3 separate regions of the Homo sapiens genome follow, and regions 1 and 3 are each linked to region 2. Evidence: promoter capture Hi-C in 16 types of primary human blood cells and fetal thymus (Javierre and others, 2016). All regions are on one chromosome and are shown on one strand. The core of a region is centred on a gene start or on the middle of the fragment in contact, and the rest is flanking DNA. Distances in the headings are between cores, read along the strand shown. Region 1 overlaps GNA14 (G protein subunit alpha 14). Region 2 holds the start of GNA14 (G protein subunit alpha 14). Region 3 overlaps GNA14 (G protein subunit alpha 14).

Region 1 (4,516 bases), core at 703-3,202, 160 kb before region 2:
TCCTTCCTTTCAACTTTGGTGAATCTGACAATTAAGTGTCTTGGAGTTGCTCGTCTTGAAGAGTATCTTTGTGGAGTTCTCTGTATTTCCTGAATCTGAATGTTGGCCTGCCTTGCTAGATTGGGGAAGTTCTCCTGGATAATATCCTGCAGAGTGTTTTCCAACTTGGTTCCATTCTCCCTGTCACTTTCAGGTACACCAATCAGACCTAGATTTGGTCTTTTCACATAGTCCCATATTTCTTGGAGGCTTTGTTCATTTCTTTTTATTCTTTTTTCTCTAAACTTCTCTTCTTGCTTCATTTCATTCATTTCGTCTTCCATCACTGATACCCTTTTTTCCAATTGATTGCATCAGCTCCTGAGGCTTCTGCATCCTTCACGTCGTTCTTGAGCCTTGGCTTTCAGCTCCATCAGGTCCTTTAAGGACTTCTCTGCATTGGTTATTCTAGTTATCCATTCGTCTAATTTTTTTTCAAAGTTTTTAACTTCTTTGCCATTGGTTTGAATTTCCTTCTGTAGCTCAGAGTAGTTTGATCGTCTGAAGCCTTCTTCTCTCAACTCATCAAAGTCATTCTCCGTGCAGCTTTGTTCCATTGCTGGGAGGAGCTGCGTTCCTTTGGAGGAGGAGAGGTGCTCTGCTTTTTAGAGTTTCCAGTTTTTCTGCTCTGTTTTTTCCCCATCTTTGTGGTTTTATCTACTTTTGGTCTTTGATGATGGTGACGTACAGATGGGTTTTTGGTGTGGATGTCCTTTCTGTTTGTTAGTTTTCCTTCTAACAGACAGGACGCTCAGCTGCAGGTCTGTTGGAGTTTGTTAGAGGTCCACTCCAGACCCTGTTTGCCTGGGCATCAGGAGCAGTGGCTGCCGAACAGCGGTGGCTGTAGAACAGCGGATATGGGTGACCTGCAAATGCTGCTGCCTGATCGTTCCTCTGGAAGTTTTGTGTCAGAGGAGTACCCGGCCGTGTGAGGTGTCAGTCTGCCCGTAATAGGGGGTGCCTCCCAGTTAGGCTGCTCAGGGGTCAGGGATCCACTTGAGGAGGCAGTCTGCCCGTTCTCAGATCTCCAGCTGCATGCTGGGAGAACCACTACTCTCTTCAAAGCTGTCACACAGGGACATTTAAGTCTGCAGAGGTTACTGCTGTCTTTTTGTTTGTCTGTGCCCTGCCCCCAGAGGTGGAGCCTACAGAGGCAGGCTGGCCTCCTTTAAAGGAGTCTTATATGAAAATTCCCAGAACTAAAGCACATAAATCTTTGGACTGAAAGAGCTCTGGAGGACCCAGCATAATGAATGGGAAATAACCCACCTCAATAACCGTAGGGATAAAATGAAGGTATGACATTCTTTGAGAAAAAGAGAATATATAAGGAATGTAGAATTAGAATGACATTAGATTTTTCAAAAAACAAACACAAAATAAAAGATAGTAATGCTTTCAAAATCAGAGTGAGAATGACTTTCAAACTAGAATTCAATACCCAGACAAATATTGATCAAGTCTAAGGGCAGAATAAGACATTTAAGACATTCAAGAATACAAAACAATTTCTCTCCCATGCCCCTTTTCTTTGGAGAACATGAAAGGATGTGCTCCAGGTAAACACAGAATCAGAAAGAAGAAGAAATAACAACTGGAACACAGTAAAGAGGTAAAGGGAAGTGTCATAATCAGAACTTGCAGTCAATTAAAAGAACAATCAATCTAGCTCAGAGTAGGAGGATGAAGAGCTTAAAGTGAAACATATCCAAGAGAAAAAATGGAATTTATAAATACAGTTTGTCTTAAGAGGAGTTTTATAATTCTGCCTCAAAGTTTAGGAATAAACTACTAATGGGCACATAAAACAACCTTCTTGGAAAAAATTAAAACGTGTTCAAAAAGAGAATTGTGATCATGGTTAGAAATGGCTCAACTGTGAACAATATTTATATAATCATAAGTGATAAACGATTTCATCACAAATTGTTATATAACAATGTAAGGAATACAAGTGTGGGTGGGTGGGTGTGGGTGCTGTAGGCAGGGATATAAAATTGTTTCCATTAGAAAGTAAGAGTACTACACTTTGTGGTAGTATGAATCAGGGATGAGGCAGGGGACTGCTCTTTTTCATTTTATATCTTGTAGTACAGTTGTCCCCTTTATCCATGGAGGGTATATTCCAAGACCTTCAGTGGACACCCAAAACCATGGATAGTACCAAGCCCTATATATACTGGCATACCTCAGAGACATTATGAATTTGGTTCCAGGCCACTGTAATGAAGTAAAAATTTCAATAAAATGAGTCACACAAATTTTGGTTTCCTAGTACATACAAAAGTTAGGTTTATACTCTATTGTAGTCTATTAAGTGTGCAATAGCATTATATCTAAAAAAACACTGTACGTACCTTACTTGAAAAATATTTTATTTTTTAAAAATGCTAATGATCATCTGAGCATACAGCAAGTTATAATCTTTTTGCTCACAGAGGATCTTTCCTTATGTTGATGGCTGCTCAGGATGGTGGTTGCTAAAGGTTGAGGTGATTGTGAGCAATTTCTTAAGGCAGCAATGAAGTTTGCCGCATTGATTGACTCTTCCTTTCATAAAAGACTTCGTGTCATGTGATGCTGTTTGATAGCATTTTACCTACAGTAGAATTTGAGTTAATCCTCTCAAATCCTGCCACTATTTTATCAACTAAACTTATATAATACTCTAAATCTTTTGTTGTCATTTCAAAAATGTTCACAGCATCTCCACAGGAGTAGTTTCCATCTCAAGAAATCACTTTCTTTGCTCATCCATAAGAAGGAACTCCTCATTTTTTCAAGTTTTATAATGAGATTGCAGCAATTCAGTTACATCTTCAGGCTCCACTTCTAATTCCAGTTCTCTTATACTCCTACCACATCTGTAATTACTTCCTCCACCAAAGTCCTGAACCTTCAAAGTCATCCATGAGAGTTGGAATCAACTTATGCCTAACACCTGTTAATAATTTGACTTCCTCTCAGGAATTACAAATGTTCTTCATGGTATCTAGAATGGTGAATCCTTCCCAGAAGGCTTTCAATTTACTTTGCCCAGATCAATCAGAGAAGTCACTATCTATGACAGCTATAGCCTTAAAAAATGCATTTTGTAAATAATAAGACTTGGAAGTCAAAATTACTCCTTGATCCATGGGCTTCAGAACAATGTTTTGTTAGCAACCATTTAAAAAAAAACACATTAATCTCCTTGTACATCTCCATCAGAGCGCTTAGGTGACCAGGTGCATTGTCAATGAGTAGTAATATTTTGAAAGGAATCTTTTTTGCTAAGCAGTAGGTCTCCACAGTAGGCTTAAAATATTCAGTAAATCATTCTGTCTACAGATGGGCTGTCATCCAGGCTTTGTTGTTCCATTTATAGAGCACAGGTAGAGTAGATTTTGTGCAATTCTTAAGGGCCCTAGGGTTTTAGAATGGTAAATTGGCATTAGTTCCAACTTAATGTCTCCAGCTGCATTAACCCCTAACAAGAGAGTCAGCCTGTCCTTTGAAGCACTGAACCCAGGCATTGACTTCTCTCTTGCTATGAAAGTCCTGGATGTTGTCTTCTTCCAATAGAAGGCTGTTTCATCTATATTGAAAATCTGTGGTTTGGTGTAGCCACTTTCATCAATCATCTTAGCTAGATATTTTGGATAACTTGCTGCAGCTTCTCCATCAGCACCTGCTGTTTCACCTTGCACTGTTATGTTACAGAGATGGCTTCTTTCCATAATCCTCATGAACCAACCTCTTCTCACTTCCAGCTTTTATTGTGCAGCTTCCTTACCTCTCAGCTTTCATAGAATCGAAGAGAGTTAGGGCCTGGCTCTGGATTCAATTTTGGCCAAGGCAATGTTACAGCTGTTTGATCTTCTATCCAGACCACTAAAACTTTCTCCATATCAGCAATAAGTCTATTTCACTTTCTTATCATTTGTGTATTCACTAGAGTAGCACTTCCAATTTCTTTGAAGAACTTTTCTTTTGCATTTACAACTTGGCTATTTGGTGCAAGAGGCCTAGCTTTTGGCTGTCTCAGCTTTTTACATGCCTTCCTCACTAAGCTTAATCATTTCTAGCTTTTGATTTAAAGTGAGAGATGTGTGACTCCTCTTTTCACTTGAACATTTTGAGACCATTGTAGGATTATTAATTGGCCTAATTTCAATACTACTGTGTTTCAGGTAATAGGGAGGCTTTAAGGAGAGGGAGATAGATGAGGATTGGCCAGTGGATGGAGCAGTCAGAACATATATACACAATGTTTATTGACTGTCTTCTTACATGGGCATGTTTGTGGTGCCCCCAAATAATTACATTAGGAAGATAATAGATCTCTGACCACAGATCATCATAATGGATATAATAATAGTGAAAAGGTTTGAAATATTGGGAGAATTATCAAAACTTTCCAGAGACATGAAGTGAGCATATGCTGTTGGAAAAATGAACCCAATAGACTTGCTCAATGTAGTGTTACCACAAACCT
Region 2 (4,639 bases), core at 622-3,121:
CCAGAAGGCCAGACTGGGCCCTTTAAACCCAGGGGATAAGGATAAGGGGGTTCTTCCGCCCAGGTCTGAAGGCCATACTGGCTGAGAGCCTTCTCTATATTACACTAACTAGATCAACTTTTTCTTTCCTTGAAGCTTTCTGGGAGGGTGATTCCTATACAAGGAATAAAGATGAATAAATAGATGGTATAAGAGAAGATTCCTGTTCAAAAGGGGTGAAAGAAAAAAAGTTGAAATCTTTGTGGCTATCTAGAAAAAAATTGACAGCTGATATCATGGTCTGAAAGGTAGAAAAGGTAAAATATTCCTCAAACAGCAAATGTGTTGACAGCGTTCTAGAAAGTCTGAGATGGGATCCTTGCCTCATGGCATAACTTGGGCAAACCTTAAACTGTGTTCTTTCTGTGTTTGAAAGTGGATGTCCTACCCAGACCTTTGCAGAGACACCAAAAGAGCTGGATGAAGACCTGCCAGAGGCACCAGGGCAGCCAAGCTGAATCCTAGGACGTGGACACACTGAGTCAAGCTGGGCAAGGGAGGTTTGGGTCCGCTGCAAACACAAAGGCCTGAGGGACCCCCATGGGAGGCAGGCATAGGAGCTCACGGTCAGAGGAGCAGCAACGGCATGGGCTTCACCCCCACAGCTGACCTAGCATCGGCTTTGCCTTTTCTCAATCAGGGCAAGTTGGTCAGTTCTCCAGGCCTCCATGTTTTAATTCTCTAGAATAGCGATATCACCTGCCCGCATCACCAGGTGGTGATGCCCTTAAGAACTTAGCACGATCTGGCACATGGTAAATTCTCAAGATGCTTCATCTAGAACTGAAAGCGTACGGGTCAGAGCTAGCGCTGAACCCAAGATGTGGGTCACCACAGACCCCAAGCTGGGTGTGCTGCGGGCGGAGGAGTGGACGGGGTTTTGAGGAGAGGGGCACACCGGAACACATAAGGTACAGCGGTCAAGAGGTTAAGTGTTACAGGTCCCTATCCTGTTTTGGGGCAGGGGAAGGTGTTGCTTTTGCAAGTCGCCCAGCCAGAGATGGAAAGAACAGGCACCTAAGGCCCCAAGTTGCTGGCATCCGTGAGCTCCGAGGGGGAGAAGGACGAAGCCGCCCTGCACCCCGCTGGGCTCCAGGGCCGCGCGGGTGCCAGTGGAGAGGCCGGGAGGGCTCGGAAGAAAAACGCCCGGCTCACTGGAGTCGGAGACGCAGCCACTCACCCAGCAGCAGCAGCTTAAGCTCACGGCGCGCGTCCTTCTTGTCCCGACGAAGCTGTCGCTCGATCTCCGCGCTGATGCGCTGCGACTCCTTCTCCTCCGCGGACAGGCAGCAGCAGCCGGCCATGGTGCGCTCAGCTCAGTACCCGACGGGGCGACGCGGCCCCGGGCACCCGAATCCTCGGCCCGGCCGCTCACCCGGCCAGCATGCGACGGGCACAGGGGTGTGGAAAGAAAAGACGGGGGCCGACTTGAGCTTTGGAGTAAGACGCCTGGACCTCCGAGGCTCAATCCCCCTTCGAAAGTCGGCTCTGAGGCGGGGTGAATGCCGAGCGCTGGGAACGCTCGAGTGCACCCCGGATCCGGGCTCAGCCCGCCCCACTCTCGCTCTGGGGAGGAGGAGGGCGAGTCGAGAAGTTGGGAGCGTTGCTGGCCCCGGGAAGATGCGCGCGCCCCTTGGCACAGGAGCCGGACAGCAGTCGGGGGCGCAGACGAGTTGGAACGTCGGTGCTCGGGGGAGAGTAGGATCTCCTGGGCCTAGGGGTGTCCCCAGGCGGGAGGTAGGCGCGGAGTGGGTTGGAGGCAAAGGACCTGGCTGGCCTTTGCCTGGAAAGTTCTGAAAACCTCAGCAGTGACCGCAGACTAAGACTGAGTGGAAAGGTTCCCGCTAGCGTTTGTGGCTCTAAGTGGCAGGAGGAGGCGGAGCATCTTGAACCTGCAGCCCTGGCGTCTGCTGGACTTGCCCTTCTGGGCACCCCAAGCCGAAGGCGCCTGGAAGTGAAAGGGGACGAGCAGGGGGCGCGGAGCTGGGGGTGGGAGCTGGCACCTCTAGGAGCAGCTCCCACACTTGCCTCCCTGGCTGGGGCGTCCCGGCCAAGGTTTGCTGTAATCTGCGCGTCTGGCCGCCAGGCACCGGGTTCCGACAGGTGAGTGAGTTTCGCCAACTCACTCGCTCGGAGAAGGCGGCAGCAGGCTGGAAGAGGAGCGGCGCCAAGCGTCTGTTGCGGGACACAAAGCCCCGGACCTGAAGTGGAAGCTTGCCCACCAGCTTCACCACCACGCACACCCGGATTTCCTAGACTGGCTCCTTCCGCTTCCCGGACGCCCCGGCCCAGCTCGGGCTTGGCCAAAGCCCTTGGTCAGCTCGGCAATTTGCCTGTAAAGTGTGGCTGGGCCTGAGCCTGCTGGCTCTGAGCTCGGAGAAGGAGCCGCCGCTGGGTTCAGTTATAAGAGAACTGCAAGAGCCCAGGGTAAATATCCTCTCGGTCTCCGGACGAGGGGGCTGGGGAGAAAGGGAACGGCTGATTGCTTTGCATTTTATGATGGGAAAGACACCTGCTTTGTAGAAAGGGCTGATACGTTCCTAGTAGCACCTGGCAAGTTTCCTGCCCAGCCCTGAAGCCTAACAGCCGCCTTGCGATTGTGTCCGCACTGACACCTTGGCCTGTATCCTGGACCGTCGGGGTCAAGTTTGAGCAGCATTAATAAAAACTTTAAAAGCACCTCTTAGTACTTAAGTGACACGATAAAATGCATATTACAACATCTGACTTTTGTCTGTGTAGATTTTGATGCAGAAAAGGGAAGGTGGGGAGAGGGGATCCTATTGGCCACAGCAATGAACGTTCTTTCCTTCTCAAGTCAGTATAGGCCATATGCTAATGGGGCGTTAGGCAATTAGCTAGCGCTTCCTCTACTAAGAGCAGGCATAAGTGCCTTTCATTTGAGTAGCATATATTTTATAAATTCAAACTGAGGAGCACATTGAGTGGAATGGTACGTGTCATTATATAAAGAAGTTGGTATCGCGATGCTATCTGGCTGCATGTTCTTATTATTTTACAGTTTAAGAAATGTAGAGGAATCAGACATTAAAAATGTGCATACATGCTTTAATGTGTGACTATTTTAGTTTTCTTGCAGGCATAAATTGACAGTAACAGTGACCCCTACAGGAAAACTCCTGGACATTTCAGATTTGATCTTTGGCCATTTAATAGCCTGTTTCTTCTCTCTTAGCTCTTACGGATTCATTTACAATTTGAGAATAAGATCTCTTGGCTTCTCAAAGTCATGGTTGCATCATAATTGTTATCATTTAAAAATTATAAAAAATTTTTAAATGATTAAAACTAGGGCAAATTTGAACTCTTACGTTAACGGGAATTACTGATACTGACCTATTAGGTTTAAAGTTGGCAAGATTTCAAAAACAGTTATGAAACATATTGATTAGGGCAAATCTGTACAACTTTCCTGGGCTAGTCAGCTTGGCAGTATATATCTGAAGCCTTAAACATGTCCGTCCCCTTCGGCCAAACCAGTAATTTCTCCCTTAAGAAATAACTAGAAAGAAGCCTCATGACTGATGCAAAGGTTTTATTGCCAATACAACAACAAAAACTCACAACCTAAATACCTAACAACAGGGAAGAGATCACTTAAATCATGGTTTATCCATACAATGAGATGTTTTGGAGCCATTAAATATGTGGATATGCGAGTAGTAAACATGTGAATAAATTTGGAGAAAATCCTCAAAATATATTGAATGAAAAAGGCAAGATCCAAAAATATAAAGAGTATGATAAGATTTTAGTATAAGAATACGCATACACATTTTTAAGAGACTGAAGGGACACACATCAAAAAGGTAGCTTGCTGTGAGTCATGGCTGTTTGGTTGATTTTCATTGTTCATTAGAAAATTTGGGCTGGGTGCAGTGGCTCACGTCTGTAATCCCAGCACTTTGGGAGGCCGAGGCGGGCAGATCACCTGAGGTTGGGAGTTCGAGACCAGCCAGCCTGACCAACATGGAGAAACCCCATCTCTACTAAAAATACAAAATTAGTTGGGTGTGGTGGCACATGCCTGTAATCCCAGCTACTCGGGAGGCTGAGGCAGGAGAATTGCTTGAATCCGGAAGGCAGAGGTTGTGGTGAGCCAAGATCACACCATTGCACTCCAGCCTGGGCAACAAGAGCCAAACTCCGTCTCAAAAAAAAAAAAAAAGAAAGAAAAAATTTGGGGCAGCTTGCATAAAATTATTTAGGCTCCACTTTCCTTAACTATAAGATGAGAGGGATAAGCCAGAATAAGCTCAAAAGGATCACCCAACTCTAACATGCATTATTTCTTTGATGACATTCACACTTATCCAAAATAAATTTATTTAAAAATAATCAAAAACCTAAAGTTGTTATTGAGCATCAGCCACTGGTAAGAAACAGAAAACTGGGATATCACAAGTCAATCATTTTTATACTTCTATGTTTTATTCATCTCTGTTTTCCTTATCTGTAGAATCTGGAAGGTAAAATGATAATAATTTTAAGATATTAATTCATTGGAAACATCTTTCCAGGAAGGGGTAGTTTTGAGAAGAGTTCTCAATAAAAGAGAATATTTATTTTCCTAAGTTAT
Region 3 (4,329 bases), core at 147-2,646, 220 kb before region 2:
ATTGTCTTGTATTTTCTTTGTGCTTCTAGATATCCTAAAGAGCTCCATTCCCCTCTCTCTGTTCTCACGCAAAACTGTCTCGGCTATTTCTGGACTTTACTGTTCTAGATAAATTTTAACATCAATTTGTGAACTTCCACAAAAGCTGTTGCTATTGCATTTATCTCTTGAGTGAGGATTCATATTTTTAAAGCTAGATGTTGCTATTGTAGAATTGCTGCATATCAGAATAATTTCAGTCTTTTTCAGCAATTGGAATTGTTCCCACAGAATGGGGACACATGGTTCCATAACATATGTAGCCAACCGAGGTGCATTTTATAGACTGATTTGAGACAGATATTTCATACCTTACGTCCCCAAATGGTGTATGTGTGTGTGCACACACATGTGTGCACACATGCACAAAACCATCTTGGCCTTTAGTGTGGAGCACTCTTAATTCCCAGAGGATTCTCCTTCTGCTTGACCCAGCCAGCTACTGAGGGAACTGCAGCATGACACGATGATGCGCAGACTTGCCTTGAAAGGAGGAATCTTAGGAAAGTTTCCGAGTTACTATTAAGGCCACAGCATTTTTCTGTTTAGGAGCAGAACCATCAGTCAACCATGAGCTCTAAGAAACACAACATAACCCAGTGCTAATAGCAGAATGGTATATTCTTAGCCTCCTCAGAAAGGCACAGCATACATAATTCAAACAGCAAATCTGTGGTGGCCATCAGAACTTTGGCAGGGTTACGTAACATTTGTCAAACAATGTGGACTTCTAGCCATTTCATACATTTTTAAGATCTGGTCATATACATTGGGGGTAAAAATGTACACACACACACACGTGCACACACACACATTTTTCACCAATAAAACATATATGCTATCTAGAGCCCATTTACTCTATGTCAGCTTTGGCTTCTTGGTGATCAAACTGTGGCAAAGCTAAATTAGATATACTTATATATCCATTAATTTGGCTTAGAAAGTTAACACACAAAAAGAACCAAGTGTTTAAAAAAAATCTTTGGTGGCATGTTAAAGGAGTCACCCTTCAGCATGAGGTGAGAAACACAATTAAAAATGTCTCTAAATTACAAGGTTTAATAAAAAGCTTCAAACCCATTAACATTCTTATTTTTAAAAAAGTCACCCAAATTAACTCTAGAGGTTTGAAGGCATGATCTATAAACTAACAGGCTCCTTGCTTACATAATTTTAATCGCTATTTTTAAACATATTTAAAACTAAATCAAAGTGGCTTTTAAAAATTCTAGAAAACACCAAATTCAAAAATTACACAAAATCTTATAGCCAAAAGTCAAGAAAATAATTATAAACACAATTTGGGATGTAAGGACTTTTAAAGTATGTTGGTAAACTCAAATATCTTCCAAGTTCCATCACCCATCTCTGTCCCCACGATCTACATGACATCCTTAGTTCCTGGCATGGGGCTGGCTCTGGTGATGTCAGAAGCACTTGCAAATAAAACAAGGAGTTTGCAAATCACATCTTCTGTTATAGGGGAGGAGTGGGCAGCAGCTTTTAGACAAGGTTGAATTCCCTTAGGTTTAGCTGTAGAATTGTGTCTTTGACAGCAGCAAACACAAAGCGAATATTGTCTGTATCTGTAGCACATGTGAAGTGAGAGTAGATGACTTTCTCTTTGTCAGGATTCTGATCTTGGTAAAGCTTCAGGATAAAGTCTCTGGCAGCTCTGACATCCTGTTTCGGTCCTAGTCACAAGTGCAATTACAGGAATAAAGACACAGACTTAACACCATGTCCTCCCAAGAACCTTTTTTTTGAGACAGAGTCTCGCTCTGTAGCCCAGGCTGGAGTGCAGTGGCACGGTCTCAGCTCACTGCAACCTCTGCTTCTGGGGTTCAAGCAATTCTCCTGCCTCAGCCTCCCAAGTAGCTGGGATTACAGATGCGTACCACCACACACAGCTAATTTTTGTATTTTTAGTAGAAACGGGGTTTTACCATGTTGGCCAGACTGGTCTCGAACTCCTGACCTTAGGTGATCCACCTGCCTTGGCCTCCCAAAGTGCTGGGATTACAGGCGTGAGCCACCGTGCCTGGCCCCAAGAACCATTTTTTAATGTATTCTTGTTCTTATTTGAGATCCTGCTTTGATCCATCTTTATTTCCAGGGAACGGTTTACCTGGAGCATTATTTTTATGGTATCTCATCATGAACCCATAAAATAGTCATATTTTAAAATGTCCTCTGGTATCTAAAAATTGTACTTTACAGTGATTTGTTTAAACATAGTGACCCAATTTGTCTGATTTGGACCACTATTGAAGAGAAGTAATCCTGGCTAACACATATGGACAGACAGCTCTGGTCTAGGAGAGATAAAAGGAAGAATGTGGGAACTAACATCAGGCTGATTTTAAAGCTCGAGGGTGCTACACTACACAGCCAGTATGGTTAGTAAAAGGGGAAAGAAGAGTGCTAAAACATGAATCCACTAAATATCAGTGTCAAACTTAAGGTTTGAGACCTCCTGTACCAGAAACAATTAGCAACAGGGCATGAGACTCTCCTACCTTGGACAGGTTATGTGAGTCCACCATGTGTCTGGGAAAAGGGATGCCACACTCTAACATACACATAAGAAGCACCAGGTGCTCTGACTGGCATGAGGAATGCACAGATAAATCAAGCAGAGTCTCTACCCTCATGGAGCCGACTGGGAAGAGAGCTGAGTGAGCAGAGGATATGACATAGCATGATGTGGCCAAGAGAGCAAGCAGGGGTTAGGCTGCTGAGGGAGCAGAAAGGAGGAGGCACCCTTCCTGCAGACCAGATGGGCAGGGGAAGCCAGAAAGGCTCCCAGAGAAGGGGAGGCCTTTGCTGGGTTTTGGAGAACAACATGGAGGCAGCGAAAGGAGTTGGTAAGGGTATTCCAAGCACTGAGGGAAGCACATGTGGAGGTGCTGTGGTGAAAACACAACAATGGTGCAACTAGAGCTTCTGTTTGAAGGTGGGAATAGGGGGAGAGGCTATTGCAGGCAGACCAGGGAGGCCCCTTTGAGCCGTGATAACTCTAGACTGATGCCCGGGAGGTGGACGAGATCAGCACAGAAAACACTGTCCACAAGATAGACACTTACCTGTGTATTCTGGGAAATAGCTAATTAGATGAGAGTACATGATTTTCTCTTCCAAAAGATCCTTCTTGTTCAAGAATAAAATCACAGACGAATTCAGAAACCAGGGGTAGGTGATGATGGTTTTAAATAAGGCTTTGCTCTCTTCCATGCGATTCTAAGTGAAAAACAAGGGACTTGGGATGAAGTAGAAAGGAAATATTTTGGAAACAACATGGCGCATTGCCAGTCCATCCATCTCTTCCCTTGCCCCGCCGCAGTCTCTGGGCCACTGTCTGCTGAAGCTGGTGAGCATGTGGGGCCCCAGGCTACAGGCCTCCTGCTTCTGTTTGCCCCTCCCCAAGCCTCTTACTAACCATCCCCTTCTGGGTCCCCTCTCCTGTAGCATCCCAGCTCTTCTCCAGCCCAAAACTCACATGGAACGAAGTAAGAAAGGCTTTGGTGCAGCTTGGAAAAGGAAGGTTCCTACCCACGTTTCACAAGTTTCCTGTGTCATGTGATCGTTGGGATTACTAAGTGGGGAAGTGCCAGCTTCAGACCTGACACGGCCACCTCAGTTGGTTATGGGCTTCCAGACTGGGCCTCAGCAGTCAAGTGACAAGGCTCTTCCAGCAAGGCCACTGGCCCTAGGAATGCTAGAAGTTGGCAGAGACAGGACGCACTGCTACTGGGAACCCACCCTGTGCCACACTTTACAAGCAGAGCAGTGGCCCGTTTGATGGGTGACCATACTGTTGTTCAGAACTTTTTTTTTTTTCCTTTCTGAGATGGAGTCTCGCTGTGTCGCCCAGGCTGGAGTACAGTGGCGCGATCTCGGCTCACTACAACCTCCAGCTCCTGCATTCAAGTGATTCTCCTGCCTCAGCCTCCCGAGTGGCTGGGACCACAGGTGCATACCACCACACCCGGCTAATTTTTTGTATTTTTAATAGAGACGGGGTTTCACCGTGTTAGCCAGGATGGTCTCAATCTCCTGACCTCGCGATCCGCCCGCCTCGGCCTCCCAAAGTGCTGGGATTACAGGCATGAGCCACCGCGCCTGGCCTTGTTTAGAACATTCAAATAACTTTCCCAAGCCCATGTAATAGTGGGACCTGGGGAAGGTTGTGTAGAAAGACAGTGATAATTTCTAAATGTTAGACATTGGCAAGAAGATATTAAATGCTCCTAATTTACTGAGAACAGACAGGGCACAAACAAATCTTAT

Evidence for each region. Contacts are between HindIII fragments. The CHiCAGO score rates a contact against its expected background, and 5 or more counts as called.
Region 1: a fragment that was not itself captured here is called in contact with the fragment with the promoter of GNA14 in region 2 in 1 of 17 cell types (endothelial precursors); the score reaches 6.4 in endothelial precursors.
Region 3: a fragment that was not itself captured here is called in contact with the fragment with the promoter of GNA14 in region 2 in 2 of 17 cell types (erythroblasts and endothelial precursors); the score reaches 5.3 in erythroblasts.

Annotation. Positions count from the first base shown.
Region 1 is chr9:77,482,493-77,487,008 of GRCh38, forward strand. The region is part of intron 2 of GNA14 (G protein subunit alpha 14); the gene reads right to left. All of the region lies in intron 2 of GNA14-AS1 (GNA14 antisense RNA 1), which reads left to right. Among named protein-coding and RNA genes, the nearest start is that of GNA14-AS1, 37 kb to the left of the region's middle. The HindIII fragment of the contact is 4,273 bases long and covers 1-4,089 here.
Region 2 is chr9:77,646,451-77,651,089 of GRCh38, forward strand. It overlaps GNA14 (G protein subunit alpha 14), which reads right to left and starts at 1,872. Exons shown (of 7, transcript NM_004297.4): 1 at 1,220-1,872. The coding sequence starts at 1,343. The HindIII fragment of the contact is 2,117 bases long and covers 134-2,250 here.
Region 3 is chr9:77,422,437-77,426,765 of GRCh38, forward strand. GNA14 (G protein subunit alpha 14) reads right to left here. Exons shown (of 7, transcript NM_004297.4): 6 at 3,126-3,279; 7 at 643-1,733. The coding sequence ends at 1,543. Among named protein-coding and RNA genes, the nearest start is that of GNA14-AS1, 23 kb to the right of the region's middle. The HindIII fragment of the contact is 581 bases long and covers 1,107-1,687 here.